5 separate regions of the Homo sapiens genome follow, and all the other regions are linked to region 5. Evidence: promoter capture Hi-C in 16 types of primary human blood cells and fetal thymus (Javierre and others, 2016). All regions are on one chromosome and are shown on one strand. Each heading gives the region's core, a stretch centred on a gene start or on the middle of the fragment in contact. The rest is flanking DNA. Distances are from core to core; before and after follow the strand shown.

Evidence for each region. Contacts are between HindIII fragments. The CHiCAGO score rates a contact against its expected background, and 5 or more counts as called.
Region 1: a fragment that was not itself captured here is called in contact with the fragment with the promoter of FGD2 in region 5 in 1 of 17 cell types (erythroblasts); the score reaches 5.0 in erythroblasts.
Region 2: a fragment that was not itself captured here is called in contact with the fragment with the promoter of FGD2 in region 5 in 2 of 17 cell types (activated CD4 T cells and erythroblasts); the score reaches 7.0 in activated CD4 T cells.
Region 3: a contact is called between a fragment that was not itself captured here and the fragment with the promoter of FGD2 in region 5, in 1 of 17 cell types (naive B cells). The highest score is 5.3, in naive B cells.
Region 4: a contact is called between a fragment that was not itself captured here and the fragment with the promoter of FGD2 in region 5, in 1 of 17 cell types (activated CD4 T cells). The highest score is 5.6, in activated CD4 T cells.

What each region holds. Positions count from the first base shown.
Region 1 is chr6:37,356,168-37,358,902 of GRCh38, forward strand. The region is part of intron 1 of RNF8 (ring finger protein 8); the gene reads left to right. Among named protein-coding and RNA genes, the nearest start is that of RNF8, 3.6 kb to the left of the region's middle. The HindIII fragment of the contact is 1,860 bases long and covers 365-2,224 here.
Region 2 is chr6:37,295,532-37,298,231 of GRCh38, forward strand. The region is part of intron 8 of TBC1D22B (TBC1 domain family member 22B); the gene reads left to right. Among named protein-coding and RNA genes, the nearest start is that of TMEM217B, 39 kb to the left of the region's middle. The HindIII fragment of the contact is 2,948 bases long and covers 1-2,700 here.
Region 3 is chr6:36,593,658-36,596,411 of GRCh38, forward strand. SRSF3 (serine and arginine rich splicing factor 3) reads left to right here and starts at 705. Exons shown (of 6, transcript NM_003017.5): 1 at 705-824. RefSeq lists enhancers at 213-372, 481-1,162, 763-992. The HindIII fragment of the contact is 451 bases long and covers 1,159-1,609 here.
Region 4 is chr6:37,276,636-37,279,393 of GRCh38, forward strand. TBC1D22B (TBC1 domain family member 22B) reads left to right here. Exons shown (of 13, transcript NM_017772.4): 3 at 2,669-2,758. Among named protein-coding and RNA genes, the nearest start is that of TMEM217B, 20 kb to the left of the region's middle. The HindIII fragment of the contact is 4,484 bases long and covers 1-2,758 here.
Region 5 is chr6:37,004,405-37,007,104 of GRCh38, forward strand. FGD2 (FYVE, RhoGEF and PH domain containing 2) reads left to right here and starts at 1,251. Exons shown (of 16, transcript NM_173558.4): 1 at 1,251-1,481. The coding sequence starts at 1,414. RefSeq lists a silencer at 849-1,011 and an enhancer at 1,267-1,396. The HindIII fragment of the contact is 9,965 bases long and covers 1-2,700 here.

The DNA.
Region 1 (2,735 bases), core at 45-2,544, 350 kb after region 5:
GTTGCATGGGGAGGGACCCATATAAACTCAGTGGTAAGACTGTGGCTGGCTTCAGGGACCTGTGTGTAGGAGAAGCCTGCCAGGCTTGGCTGCCTGCAAGGTCAGGTCGTAGCATAGCCTGAAAAGAAGTCTGAATCAAAGGCAAGAGAAGAAGTTGTACTTATTGTTATGGTCCCCAAATCATAGCACAAGCTGTTTTGCACAAGATTTTAAAAGATACGCTAATAACATAACAGCAAAGGTAGGTCAGTTCCCTGCCTTTCCAGTTCTTAGTCTCAGATGTTGTGGATAAAATAATAAAACAGGGTTCCTTTCATTTCATTGATGGGAACACTGTAGTAAATTGTCTAATTAAGTGGCTTTAAGCTTGTTAAAGCAATGCATAGAGTTTGGTGGAAAAACAAGTAGAGATTTATTGCAAATTAGCTAGTTCTCAGGTACTATAAAGTATCTAGGCCTTTGGGGAAAACAACAGAACCTTCTCTCCCCTTTTCTTCTCTTGTATTTAGTTTTCATTAAGTTTTCTGCCCCAAGGGAAAAAAGGGAAAGGATGGTTATATTTACTGGTTTGGGGGCTTTTTTGTGGGGTGTTTTGTTTTGAGACAGAGTACTCCTTCTGTCACCCAGGCTGGAGTGCAGTGGTGTGATCACACCTTCACCTCCCTGGTTCAAGTGGTTCTTCTGTCTCAGCCTCCGAAGTAGCTGGGATTACAGATATGCACCACTATGCCCAGTTACTTTTTGTGTTTTCAATAGAGGTGGGGTTTCGCCATGTTGGCCAGGCTGGTCTCGAACTCCTGGCCTCATGTGATCCGCCCGCCTGGGCTTCCCAAAGTGCTGGAATTACAGGTGTGAGCCACCACACCTGGCCAGATTTACTTGTTATTTGAGAAACAGTAGGAATTGTGCCCAGGAGGAAAGAGATAGTCTTAGTGAAGGTGGGCAAAGACAGGATGATCTTTTAGATCAATAATGTGTGTAAGCTCAAAGGCTTGCAAAACTATTGTAAATGAAAACAACCCCTCACATATGGGTCGTCAGTCAGTTCCCACGGGAAATTCAGTGTTATGTTGAGTGGTCCTGAGATTTCCAGGTAACCTCACTGCACTCTTTAACTACAGTATAGGTGAAATATCAGTAGTACCAAGGTAAATTCTAAGACCAGGCAGTGCAGGGAAGGATGTAAAAGAATGATTCCTTTTTCTGGGTTCAGAGTCTGTTGGAGGCAATGTCAGGAAAAGGCACTCTTCTACTGTTTTGGTACTGTTTTCCCCTGGCTACTCACAATGGCAGTCTGGCTGTCTCCCCTCAAGTATTAGCATGTAATATGAGATGCTTCCTCTCTTAGAGATAAAGCTACCTAAATAGAAATTTTACTGAATATGGACGACAGATAAATCCCTAGCCATTCCATTTTTAACAGATATGTGTATTCAGAGGAACTTCTATAATTAATATAATTCTGGCAGAGTGTGAAAGAACTGAAAAACTTTGTGCTCAGTGTTGGTGGAGTGATCACCACAACATTTTAAAGAGAAACAAGTGAGACTGTATGAGTTCCAACTGCTGCTCCATATTTTCCAATGGTAATACAGTCTCTAACTTCTGACCTAAAAACACCCACCCTAAAATCTTGAGGACTCATATGCAAGACCTCTTTATTCTTTCATTCATTCTCAAATACTTAACTGAACACTATGCCAGGTATAGAAACACAGTGGTAAACAAGACAGATAAAGTCCCTGCTTATCTAATTTATATTCTATTACGGGGACAGAGGGGAAAAGTAAAATAAACAAGATAATTTTGGTCTGTGATAAGTACTTCCTAATAACTGAAGAAATATGATGGGAAGCAGACAACCAACTTTAGACAGAGGTAATCAGAGTAGGCTTATGAGTAGCTGGAACATGAAAGATAAGGAGCCTGTGCAAGATCTGAGAGAAGAGTGTTCTTAGCAGAGGGGCTAAGTGAAAAGACCCTCAGGTAGGCTGGCACTTCGGGGAGATGGGCTTAAGGAACAACAACAACAAAAAAGTTTGAGGGGCTGGAGCAGCTAGTGTTGGCACTATGGTATGAGTTAAGACTAAAGAGTAGAAGGGCTCAGGACATTCAGGGTCTTATAGGCCATGGAAGGAAGTTTGAATGATTGGACAGTTTTAAGGAAAGAAGGAAAATGACCTGATTTAAAATTTTTACATTTCTATTCCAGTTACTATTATAAAGCTTATGGGGGCTAGAGTGAGAACAGAAACAGTAGGAGGCCAGGTGGTTTGGACTAAGGCTGTGGCTGCAGAGATAGGAATGAACAGACTTAGGACATATTTGAATTATAGCCCATATAATTTACCAGTGATTTCAATGTGGGGATGAGGGACAGAGATGAATCAAAGATGGCTTCTGGGTTATGGGTTGAGTAGTTGGTTGGATAGTATTGTGAATACTGAGATAAGAGTTTGTGGGGAGGAATAGATTAGGTCAGTGAGTCGTGGTGGTCTTTGAGGGACTGAGGAGGACAGGCATTCTGAAAGATTTTAAAGAGAAGAGAAGAGGGCAGTTTTAGCTAACTTTGGTTTAAAGTTCCCAGTTAAGGTTGTGATATGGGACATTAAAGAGGTCGTTTGTGCACTAAGAAGAATATGCAGGGAGCCGGGCGCGGTGGCTCACACCTGTAATCCCAGCACTGTGGGAGGCTGAGGCAGGCAGATCACTTGAGATCAGGAGTTCGAGACCAG
Region 2 (2,700 bases), core at 163-2,662, 290 kb after region 5:
ATAACTTCTGCTGGCATGTCTTCTGAGTCTCCGTTTCCTCCACTGATATTCATCCAAATAATAAGAGAAACACAATTGCAGTTGAGTTTACTATTATCAATGGCACTGTCATCAAGGTTCTTACAGATCAAATAAGGTTCATTAGCTGAGATTTAATTCCTGGCTCCTCTCCAAATCCATCGATTCCCTGGTCTCTTCCCCAGCCAAAGTTCCACATGGCTGGGGAGGCCTCACAATCATAGCAGAAGACAAATGAGGAGCAGAGTCATGTCTTACATGGTGGCAGGCAAGAGACTAACTTCAATTTTGGAAGAAGTTCTACCGTGGGTAAAATGCTATCAAACAGAGTCACATGCTACAGAGAAATCTTTTGTGAAAGGAAAAATCAATCAATGTGGCCAACTTCATTACTGTCTTGTTTAAGAAATTGTCACAGCCAGCCCAGCCTTTAGCAACCATCACCCTGGTCAGTCAGCAGCCATCAACATTGAGGCAAGATCCTCCACTAGCAAAAAGATTATGACTTGCTGAAGGCTCAGATGATTGTTAGCACTTTTTAACAATAAAATATTATTTACTAATTAGTGGGGTGTGGTGGCATGCACCTGTAATTCCAGCTACTGGAGAGGCTGAAGCAGGAGAACTGCTTGAACCCAGGAGGCAGATGTTGCAGTGAGCTGAGATCGCACCACTGTACTCCTGCCTGGGCAACAGAGGGAGACTCCATCTCAAAAAATAATAATAAATAAAAAATAAAGTATTATTTATTTGTTGATTGATTGATTAATTGAGACAGGATCTCACTCTGTCACCCAGGCTGGATTGATTGATTGATCGAGACAGGGTCTCACTCTGTCACCCAGGCTGGAGTGCAGTGGCATGATCATGGCTCATTGTAGCCTCAATCTGCTGGCTCAAGTGATCCTCTCACCTCAGCGTCCTGGATAGTTGGGACTACAGGGGAGTGCCATCACATTTGGCTAATTTTTTGTATTTTTTTTAGAGATAAATTTTTGCCACATTGCCGAGGCTCGTCTTGAACCCCTGAGCTCAAGCATCCTCCTGCCTCAGCTTCCCAAAGTGTTGGGATTACAGGCATGAGCCACCATGCCTGATCCTAGTCTTACCACCTCTCTCCATTCTCTACTCCCTCACCATTGTGAATTATTTTGAAGCAAATCTCAATGTCAAACATCGTATCATTTTATGCATAAATTTTTTATATGTATCTCTGAAAAGTATATATGTATACACACACACATACACACACGTGCACACACATATATATATATTATAATTTTTTGGTTTTTTTTTTGAGACAGTCTCACTCTGTCGCCCAGACTGGAGTGCAGTGGCACGATCTCAGCTCACTGCAAGCTCCATCTCCCGGGCTCAAGCAATCCTCCCACTTCAGCCTCCCAAGTAGTTGGGACTATAGCCTTGCACCACCATGCCTGGCTAATTTTTGTATTTTTTGTAGAGACAGGGTTTTGCCATGTTGCCCAGGCTGGTCCTGAACTCCTGGACTCAAGCCATTTACCTGCTTCAGCCTCCTAAAGTGCTGGGATTACAGGCGTGAGCCACTGCACCTGGCCAAAGACATTTTTTAAAACACACAGCCATAATGCAATTATCACATCTAAAAAATAGTAATAGCTCCTTTATGTAATCTAATATACAGTCGTATTCATAAATCTATTCAACAGTTTGAATCAGGGTCCAAATCAGAGCTGCGTATTATAGTTGGTTGTCTTTCTTAATCCTCCAGCTCCCATCCATCTCTCTTTCCCTTAGGAGTTTGTAGCTGTAGCCCTTGTTTTTCTGGCCAAGCAGTAACATTACACTGGTTTTTAAAGTACTTTACTATTTGCAAAGAACTTGGACATACTGATTTCCTTTAGTAGGGCCCAATATCTCTTTAAGGTAGATGTATCAAGCCATTTTATAAGGTGAAATATCCAAGATTCAGGGGTCTAATGAGCTTCTTGAACTCAAATACCTGTGCTTGGCTTTAATACCTGTGCTCTCTATATGACTTGGTGGTGTCTCAACTTCAATCCTTGTCCTTGGACTTCTAATGGCTTCACCTATTATATTTAATGCTCTAAAGCAGGCAGTGCCTTTCTTATTGCTTATCTTTCTAAAAAAAATTGTAGTAGAAGTATGTTTATTAAAAAATCAAAACAACATTCTACTGTAAAGATATATGCACATGTATGTTTATTGCAACACTGTTCACAATAGTAAAGACTTGGAACCAACCCAAATGCCCATCAATGATAGACTGGATAAAGAAAATGTGACACATTTACACCATGGAATACTATGCAGCCATAAAAAAGAATGAGTTCATGTCCTTTGCAGGGACATGGATGAAGCTGGAAACCATCATTCTCAGCAAACTAACACAGGAACAGAAAACCAAATATCACATGTTCTCACTCATAAGTGGGAGTTGAACAATGAGAACACATGGACACAGGGAGGGGAACATCACACACCAGGGCCTGTTAGGGGTTGGGGGGCCCAGGGGAGAGATAGCATTAGGAGAAATACGTAATGTAAATGACAGGTTGATGGGTGCAGCAAACCACCATGGCATGTGTATACCTATGTAACAAACCTGCGCGTCCTACACATGTATCCCAGAACTTAAAGTATAATTTAAAAAAAAAATCAAAACAATATAGAAGTGTTAAC
Region 3 (2,754 bases), core at 134-2,633, 410 kb before region 5:
AGGAGAAAGGCTCGAGATACCCCTCCTGGCATTTGCTTGGGGGCCAGAATTTACATTCAATCTTCTTCAGAAACTTCCCTTTCCGGGTGTTTGCTAAAGGTGATAGTTTCCAGGTCACCTGACCGGTCTCCTTTGCTGTCGGCGCCAAGTCCTGCAAGTTTGCTTGAGAGACGAGAAACCAGCAAGAGTTGGGCAAACTTTCCAAACCAGGCTTTTCCTTCAGTGTGGAATCTAGGCGGCCACAGTCTGGTGCCAGCTGGGTCACAAACAGCTCCGTGACCTGTTTGTAAACGCGATGCTCTTAGTTCCAGACTAACCGCTCACAAGGGTGAAGCACTTAATTAATTCATCTCTTAATCTTGTTAGGGGCCAACGGCTCCTATTAGTGTTTGAGCGTGACGGCGACGGTGCTGTTTATGAAGCCCTAGCCTATTTGGAGGTGAGGAAGAGGAGTCTGTGGGTAACCTGGAGGTCGACAGACCGGGAGGAACGCTCGAGGGAGCACCAGGCCTGTTACAACGAGCGCGCGCCGACGCACGTCTCCACCCACCCGGCGCAACCGCCAGAGCGCGCTCCCAGCAACCGCGGCTCTCGCTGCGTTTGTAGCCATACGTCACGGCCTCTTCTGCTTCTCATTGGGGGAGCCCGTCCAATCATGTGATTCCAGTATGGCGTATAAATAAAGGCGAGGAGAAGGCGGTGGTCCGCCATTTCGTGGACGCCGGGTGAGTGAGAGAGTTGGTTGGTGTTGGGCCGGAGGAAAGCGGGAAGACTCATCGGAGCGTGTGGATTTGAGCCGCCGCATTTTTTAACCCTAGATCTCGGTAAGAGACCAGCGAAAGAGGGAATGAGGTGGAAATGGAATTTAACAGTACCAAGGAGCCAGGCCCAATGGCGGCGCCAGATTGAGACAAAGAGGCGCCGCCGCCATTTTGTGACGTTCAGCACGGGGCGGTGGCGGGGGCTCCCGGCCCATCGGAGGGTTTCCTAGTCTTGGAGTGGAAGTCTTTATATTCCTCATTGGGGCATGAGCCAGGATGGGGGTTACCTGGGAGTTGGGAACCACAAAGGGGAGCCGATAGCCGAGTTGTATTCCAGGTCACGGCCTTTTTATTTTTATGGCGCCTTTTTTTTTTTTGGCCCCTCATTTAATTGGGAAGCTTCTCAGAATGTTTTTGTAAAGTCACTAACCAAGACCGGACCTTTCAGTTCATATTAAATGGCCCCCGTAGTCACCTTACTTTCATGTAGTTTCAGATTTTGCAGCCTGAATCTAATCACCTTTTTCTAAGACCGAAAGATCTTCCTTGAACTTAAGATTCGTTCTTTCATCGCTTCCCATTAAAATGGAGGCTTAAGACAGGTGCCAGCAGTGTTTTTAAAAATTTTCACCAGTGGTTTGGTCTTAGAACTTACTCCTGGGCACAGGGTGTGGTCACGGCAAATAGGATGTGTCTGGACTGGATATTTTAATTAGACAAGCCCAGAGTAAGAAGAACGTGGTGTTTATGGAAAGCACTTCAGCTGAATTATTGAGTAGATGGTTTTTATGTAATTGAAACTGGTCTACAAGTTTATCAGATTCATCGTCGAAGTGACTCAGTAATAAAGCTTTATCAAATACAAGTCCGCCAAGGAAGAACAAAAAAATAAGTCCCCAAAGTGCAGTAAATTTTTTAGTAGCAAATATCTCTTTGTAATTTTTTATTAAAGTGAAATTATCTTTAAGTGGTATTTAGTATATTCAGTGTTGTGTAATCATCACTTACACGTAGTTCCAAAACATTTCCGTCACCTCCCCCCGCAGGAGACTACTACCCATTGAGCACTTACTCCCAGATTCCCTGTCCCCCTTCCTCTAGTCCCTAGCAACCACTAATCTTCCTGTCTCTCTGAACTTAGCTATTTTAGATATTTAGTATTTATGGAATCGTGTACTTTTATGTCTGGCTTCTTTAACTTAGCGTAATGTTTTCAAGATTTTCCAACGTTGGAGGATTTGTCAGTACATCATTCTGAATAATACTCATTTTATGTCTATACCACATTTTGCTTATCCGTTTCTGTTGATGGACATTTGGGTTAACATCTTTGGGCTACTGTGAATAAGTGCTACTATGAGTTTACATTTTTTAAAAAACTGTAAAGTTGGTCTCGTTGCTTGATAAATTTTTACCGCGTAAGACTCTGGTCTATCTAATGACATTTGATACTAGCCTTGTTCCTATAGTTCCAAATGACCAAAATAGGCATTTATTTATTTATTTATTTGTGGTTTTTTTTTGGCGATGGAATCTCGCTCTGTCGCCGAGGCTGGAGTGCAGTGGCGCGATCTCGGCTCACTGCCACCTCCGCCTCGCGGGTTCAAGCGATTGTTCTGCCTCAGCCTCCCGAGTAGCTGGGACTACAGGTGTGCGCCACCATGCCCGGCTAATTTTTGTATTTTTAGTTGTGACGGGGTTTCACCATATTGGCCAGGCTGGGTCGAACTCCTGACCTCGTGATTCGCCCGCCTCGGCTTCCCAAAAGTTCTGGGATTGCAGGTGTGAGCCGCCGCGCCCGGTCCATGGGCATTTTTTTAAAAGTGAAAATCGTTGGCCTTATTTTTATTAAAGCTGGTAAGTTTTGGCTTATGTAGGTACTTTGAATCGCTTGCCTGGTAGTATAACCTTAAGGACTAGCTTTCTTCATCATTGTTTTATTTAGTTTTGAGTCCCCAACAGAATTCTCTTCTGTTTTTCTAGAAATGCTTTA
Region 4 (2,758 bases), core at 195-2,694, 270 kb after region 5:
TATAATGAAAACTGGTCAGGCATGGTGGCTCATACTTGTAATCCCAGCACTTTGGGAGGCCGAGGAGGGCAGATCACCTGAGGTCAAGAATTTGAGACCAGCCTGATTAGCTGGGCATGGTGGTGCGTGCCTGTAGTCCCAGCTACTCAGGAGGCTGAGGCAAGAGAATCGCCTGAACCGAGGAGGTGGAGGTTGCAGTGAGCCTAGATCGCACCACTGCACTCCAGCCTGGGTGACAGAGCAAGGCTCCTTTTCAAAACAAACAAAAATATATATATATATAAAACGAAAACCTTCAAATGCATAAAAAGCGTATGAAGAAAAATACAACACACACCCTGGTACCCACCCCTCAGCTGGTTAACGGCCTTCATTTTTCTCAGAAGTCAGCACCTGTTAGAACCTGACAGGCAGCCTGGCCCGTCTCTCCCTGTAGTGTGTTCATCCGGTCCTGGTGTGCGTGTGTGTCACCCTGTGTTAGGCCACCAGCTTCAAGTCAGCTCTTTGACCTGAGTTAAAATTCAACTTCTTGATTTGATGATTGATTAAAGAATTCTCAGAACATCCAGTATTTATGCAATCTTAATGTACACGTGGCCTCTAAGGAGGAAAAACAGTAATAACCACATACTCCTGGGTGTTATATTAGATGACAGATCTTTCTTACACAGCTGCATGTTTGTTCTCGACAGCGAATCCCCTGAGGTGGTACTGCAGGTGGTAGATCAGGTCCCCTTTTACAAAGGAGAAGCAGCCATGGTGGATGAGTCCAGAACGTGCAGCCTCAGTTTTATTTTCTTTGATTTGGGTACTTGTCTCCTATAGTTCTTTTTTTTTTTTTTTTTGAGACGGAGTGTCACTCACACTGTCATCCAGGCTGGAGTCAGTGGTGTGATCTTGGCTCACTGCAACTTCCACCTCCCAGGTTTAAGCAATTCTCCTCCCTCAGCCTCCCGAGTAGCTGGGATTATAGGCATGCGCCACCATGCCTGGCTAATTTTTGTATTTTTTTAGTAGAGATGGGGTTTCACCATGTTGGCCAGGCTGATCTCAAACTCCTGACCTCAAGTGATCCATCTGCCTCCACCTCCCAAAGTGCTGGGATTACGGGCGTGAGCCACTGTGCCTGGCCACTCAAATAGTCTTGTTTTAAGAACAAATATTATCATTTCTATAAATAGAAAACAACATTTGTTATAAATAAGAAGAACTTCTGGGCGTGGTGGCTCATGCCTGTAATCCCAGCAATTTGGGAGGCTCAGGTGAGAGGATCACTTGAGGCCAGGAGTTTGAGACTAGCGAGAGCAACATAATGAGACCCTTATCTCTCAAAAAAAAAAAAGCTAGACATGGTGGTGTGCGCCTATAGTCCCAGCTACTCAGGAAGCTGAGGTGGAAGGATTGCTTGAGCCTAGGAGTTCAAGACTGCAGTAAGCCAAGATTTCTCTACTGCACTCCATCACTCCACCCTGGGTGACAGAGCAAGGCCCTGACTCTTAAAAGAAAAGAACCATATAAATACTCAGTGAAAAACCAAACAATCTTATTAAATCCAGAGGCAGATCTTGTTGCTAGCAAATATATTGATTCTGAGGCTGCCGTCACTTTGGCACCTAGTTAGAAAATGGTCTTAAAGACAGAGTAGCACCAAACTTCAACTTTCTTCTCAAGGCCAGCAGAAGAACTTTTAACAGAATAAAAAATGGAACAACTTTTTTATTTTGGGACTTAATGTTTAATGCTACATATGTGGACTACCTAAAATTATCTTGTTTTCTGCCAGTAGTTTATGTGCTGCTCTAAGTGATAGCAGATCAACTGTCAAATCTCTGTGGATTAACATAGTAAAGGTTTATTTCCTGCTCATGCTACATGTCTAAAATGGGGGTGGGGTAAGGGCAGAGGGCAGGCTCCTCGACATAGTTACTGCTGCTCCACATAGCCACTCAGTTACCTAGGCTGAAGGAGGTTCTACCATCTTGCCAGTGCATCATGATAGAAGAAAAGCTATGGATCAGGCATGGTGGCTCACACCTGTAACCCCAACGATTTGGGAGGCCGAGGTGGGAGGATCACTTGAACCCAGGAGTTCAAGACCAGCCTGGGCAACATAGTGAAACCTTGTGTCTACAAAAAATAATAATAAAATTAGCCAGGCATCGTGGTGTACACCTGTAGTCCCAGCTACTCAAGAGGCTGTGGTGGGAGGATCACTTGAGCCCAGGAGGTCAAGGCTGCAGAGAGCCATGATCATACCACTGCACTCCAGCCTAGGTGACAGAAACTCTGTCTCAAAAAAAAAAAAGAGAGAGGTTATACAGAACTGACACCTATTCTCTACTTTGCCTGGAAGTAATCGCCTCATTTCTCCTCAGTCCATTGGCCGGTATTGGTCATATGGCCTCACCTAAGTGTATGGGGGCCAGGAAGTATACAAGAGCACATGGGATATTTGGTGACCATTGCTGTCTCTGCTACATCTGTCTCTGCGATCTCAGGCTGGTCTGGATGTATCTAGATGAAGAATGGATGTGGGCAATTTTTGTTTGAAGAAGCTAATGATTATGTATGTGGTAGTTTGTAATTTATTAATATTACAATAATAAGCAAATGTAGGTGGTCAGATGTGTCAGGCCATTCCTTGGTAATCGTGTCTCCTTTCTTGAAGTTTCATTAAAGAACGATCAAAAGTCAACACAGTTCCTCTGAAGAATAAGAAGGCCTCCAGTTTTCATGAGTTTGCACGGAATACCAGTGA
Region 5 (2,700 bases), core at 1-2,500:
GGGCCGGGAGACCAGGTGGTAAAGGAGGCCTCAGGCAAAGACAACCCAGTGTCCTGGGATCAGGGAGGCCTGGGGATGGAGCAGCAAGAACATGGTCATCCAGGCTCCCAACGAACCTTTGCTGGAACTGTAGGACACCCACTTTTGCTTTGGAAATCCAACTTCTCTTGTATTCTTCCTGGGTGACCTTGGGCAAGTTACTTAACCTCTCTGATTCTGTTTCTTCCTATGTAAAGTGGGGATAGGAATAGTACCTACCTCATGAGGTTGTTATAGGATTAATAAGAAAATACTCATAAGCATGAAAAAGAGTGCATGTTAGCTATTATTATCCTCTGAGTTTCAGGGAGGAAACTGCCCTCCCTTGGGGCAATGAGGTGATGACAGCAACAACTAAAATGAGAGAACCCCAGTGGGGAGGTGGGAACATCACAGTACTCCCTGCCACCCTTACCAGGTTTGTGATTATTTTAAATAAAACATGCTGTTTCCTGGCCAGGCACAGTGGCTCACATCTGTAATCCCAGAATTTTGGGAGGCCGAGGCAGGAGGATCACCTGAGGCCAGGAGTTCAAGACCAGCCTGAGCAACATGGTGAAACCCCATCTCTACTAAAAATACAAATAATTAGCAGGGCGTGGTGGCAGGCCCTGTAATCCCGGCTACTCAGGAGGCTGAGGCAGGAGAATCGCTTGAACCGGGAGGCAGAGGGTGCAGTGAGCCGAGATCCCACCACCGCACTCTGTCTCTAAAGAATAAAAAAGACATTATTTCCTTACAGCTGTGAGCAGGGGCAGATGCAGAAAAGAAGGTGCTGGGAAAGAGGCCAAGTAAAAGCCACTGGACCTTCTGAAGGAGAAAGTGTGGTTGGCTGGAACCACTAGGCCAAGAAACCAGCCAAGGGTCTGGCTCCGGGTGGCCTTTTTTTTTTTTTTTTTTTTTAAGAGACGGTGTCTCACTATGTTGCCCAGGTTGGTCTTGAACTCCTGGGCTCAAGCAATCCTCCTGCTTCGGCCTCCCAAAGCACTGGAATTAGAGGTGCAAACCACTGCACCAGCCCAGACTGGGCTCCAGAAGCTACCTCTGGGCCCTGTTGCCACCTCTTAGGTGGCTTCTGGAATGGGGGTCTACAGGTGTGAAAGGTCAGCCCCCCTGAGGGAGAGGTGGGGCCCGAGCAGGCTCCTCCCACTGCGGGAGTGCTGGCCTTTCCCCTGCAGGGCTGTGGCTCTGGGACCACTTCCTCTTTCTTCACTCTGAAGCCAAGAGCCGACCTTCTGAGCCCTCAAGAAAGATCAGAACAGATTCATGGGTGATTTAGCCTATCTGTCCCAGGCCAGCGTGGCTGAGTGTGCTGGCTGGAGGCCTCTCTCTCTGCTTCGAGGGTAGCTGAGATCCACCCCGGAAACCGGCAGGATGAAGGGGGCAAGTGAGGAGAAGCTGGCATCTGTGTCCAACCTGGTCACTGTGTTTGAGAATAGCAGGTATGGGCAGCTGGGGTGGGAGGGTCACCATGGTGGGCTGGCAGCCACCCTCCAGCCTTTCTGGCAGCTCTCTCCCTGGGCCCTGCCCCGGACCCTCCTCCTGCAGGGGCAGCCCCGCGTTCCTCGGTCACGGATTCCTTGGAGCATGGGAGAGTGTCGGTGGGACACCAGGAGCCAGGCAGGGGTGAGAGTGCCAGTGTGTGTTGGGAGAGTCCAGACAGGTGTGGTTACGAGCAAGCATGGGCAGACCAAAGCCTGTGTGTGGGCACAGGACCCCACCCAGTGCCTGCCAGCACCTCTCAGAAAAGGTAGCTGATACTCACCAAGAATTTACGCCCTATGATTAGGATAACCATATAATTTATCATTCAGCACACAATTGAAACTGAAAGTAAATGCCAAATAAAATGTGGTGGTTGTGGGGGAGGCATTACAGGTAAAGCTGGGACCGTATGAGGCAAACCAGGATGTACGGGCAGCATCCTGATGGGGTACTCCCTACTCTAAGTTCATGTCCTTACTTATTTAATTTAGTCATCGAACAGCCTAATAGGGGTAGATTCTGTTTCTGTTCCCGTCTTATAGATGAGGAAATGGAGACACAGAGAGGTGAGGATGCCAAGTGCTTTAAGTATCTGGGGCAATGCTGGGGCGTCTGTCTGGAGGGAAAAGGCTGGGCCAGATGCGTGGAGTCATTGGTAGCCCTGGGAGCATGTGTGTTTGTGTGTGTGCGCGTGTGTGTATGTGTGTGTTGTGTGTTATGTGTGGCATCAATCCATTCTGCAGGCATTTCTTAAGCTCAGGACTGTGTTAGGGGCTGTCCCAGGTAGGGTTTTCTGGAAATAGACTCAGACAGAGGTTTGCCTCAGGTGATTTATCAGGGAGAGCTTTTGGGAACAACAGCTGTGGGTGTGAGGGAAGCAGGGCCGGGCAGGGGGAGATGCTGAACTGCAGTGCACCTGCCACAGAGGCCTCAGCCTGTCCCAGGGAGCTCTGGAGCTGGGATGCCTCTCGGTTGTTCCAGCTGAGGAAGAGGGCTGGGTATTTGTATCTCCATGTGGACTGGACAAGAGACTCTGGGTGAGGCAGCTCTCTCTTCCAGAGAGTGATTCCCAGAGAGGGACTCAGCCAATAAATTACCCGGCAGCCCCCAGTACTACCAGTAGCTGGTGGGGATGGTGTGGGGAGGCCTCATTCCTGAAGGAGGGACATGGGTGGC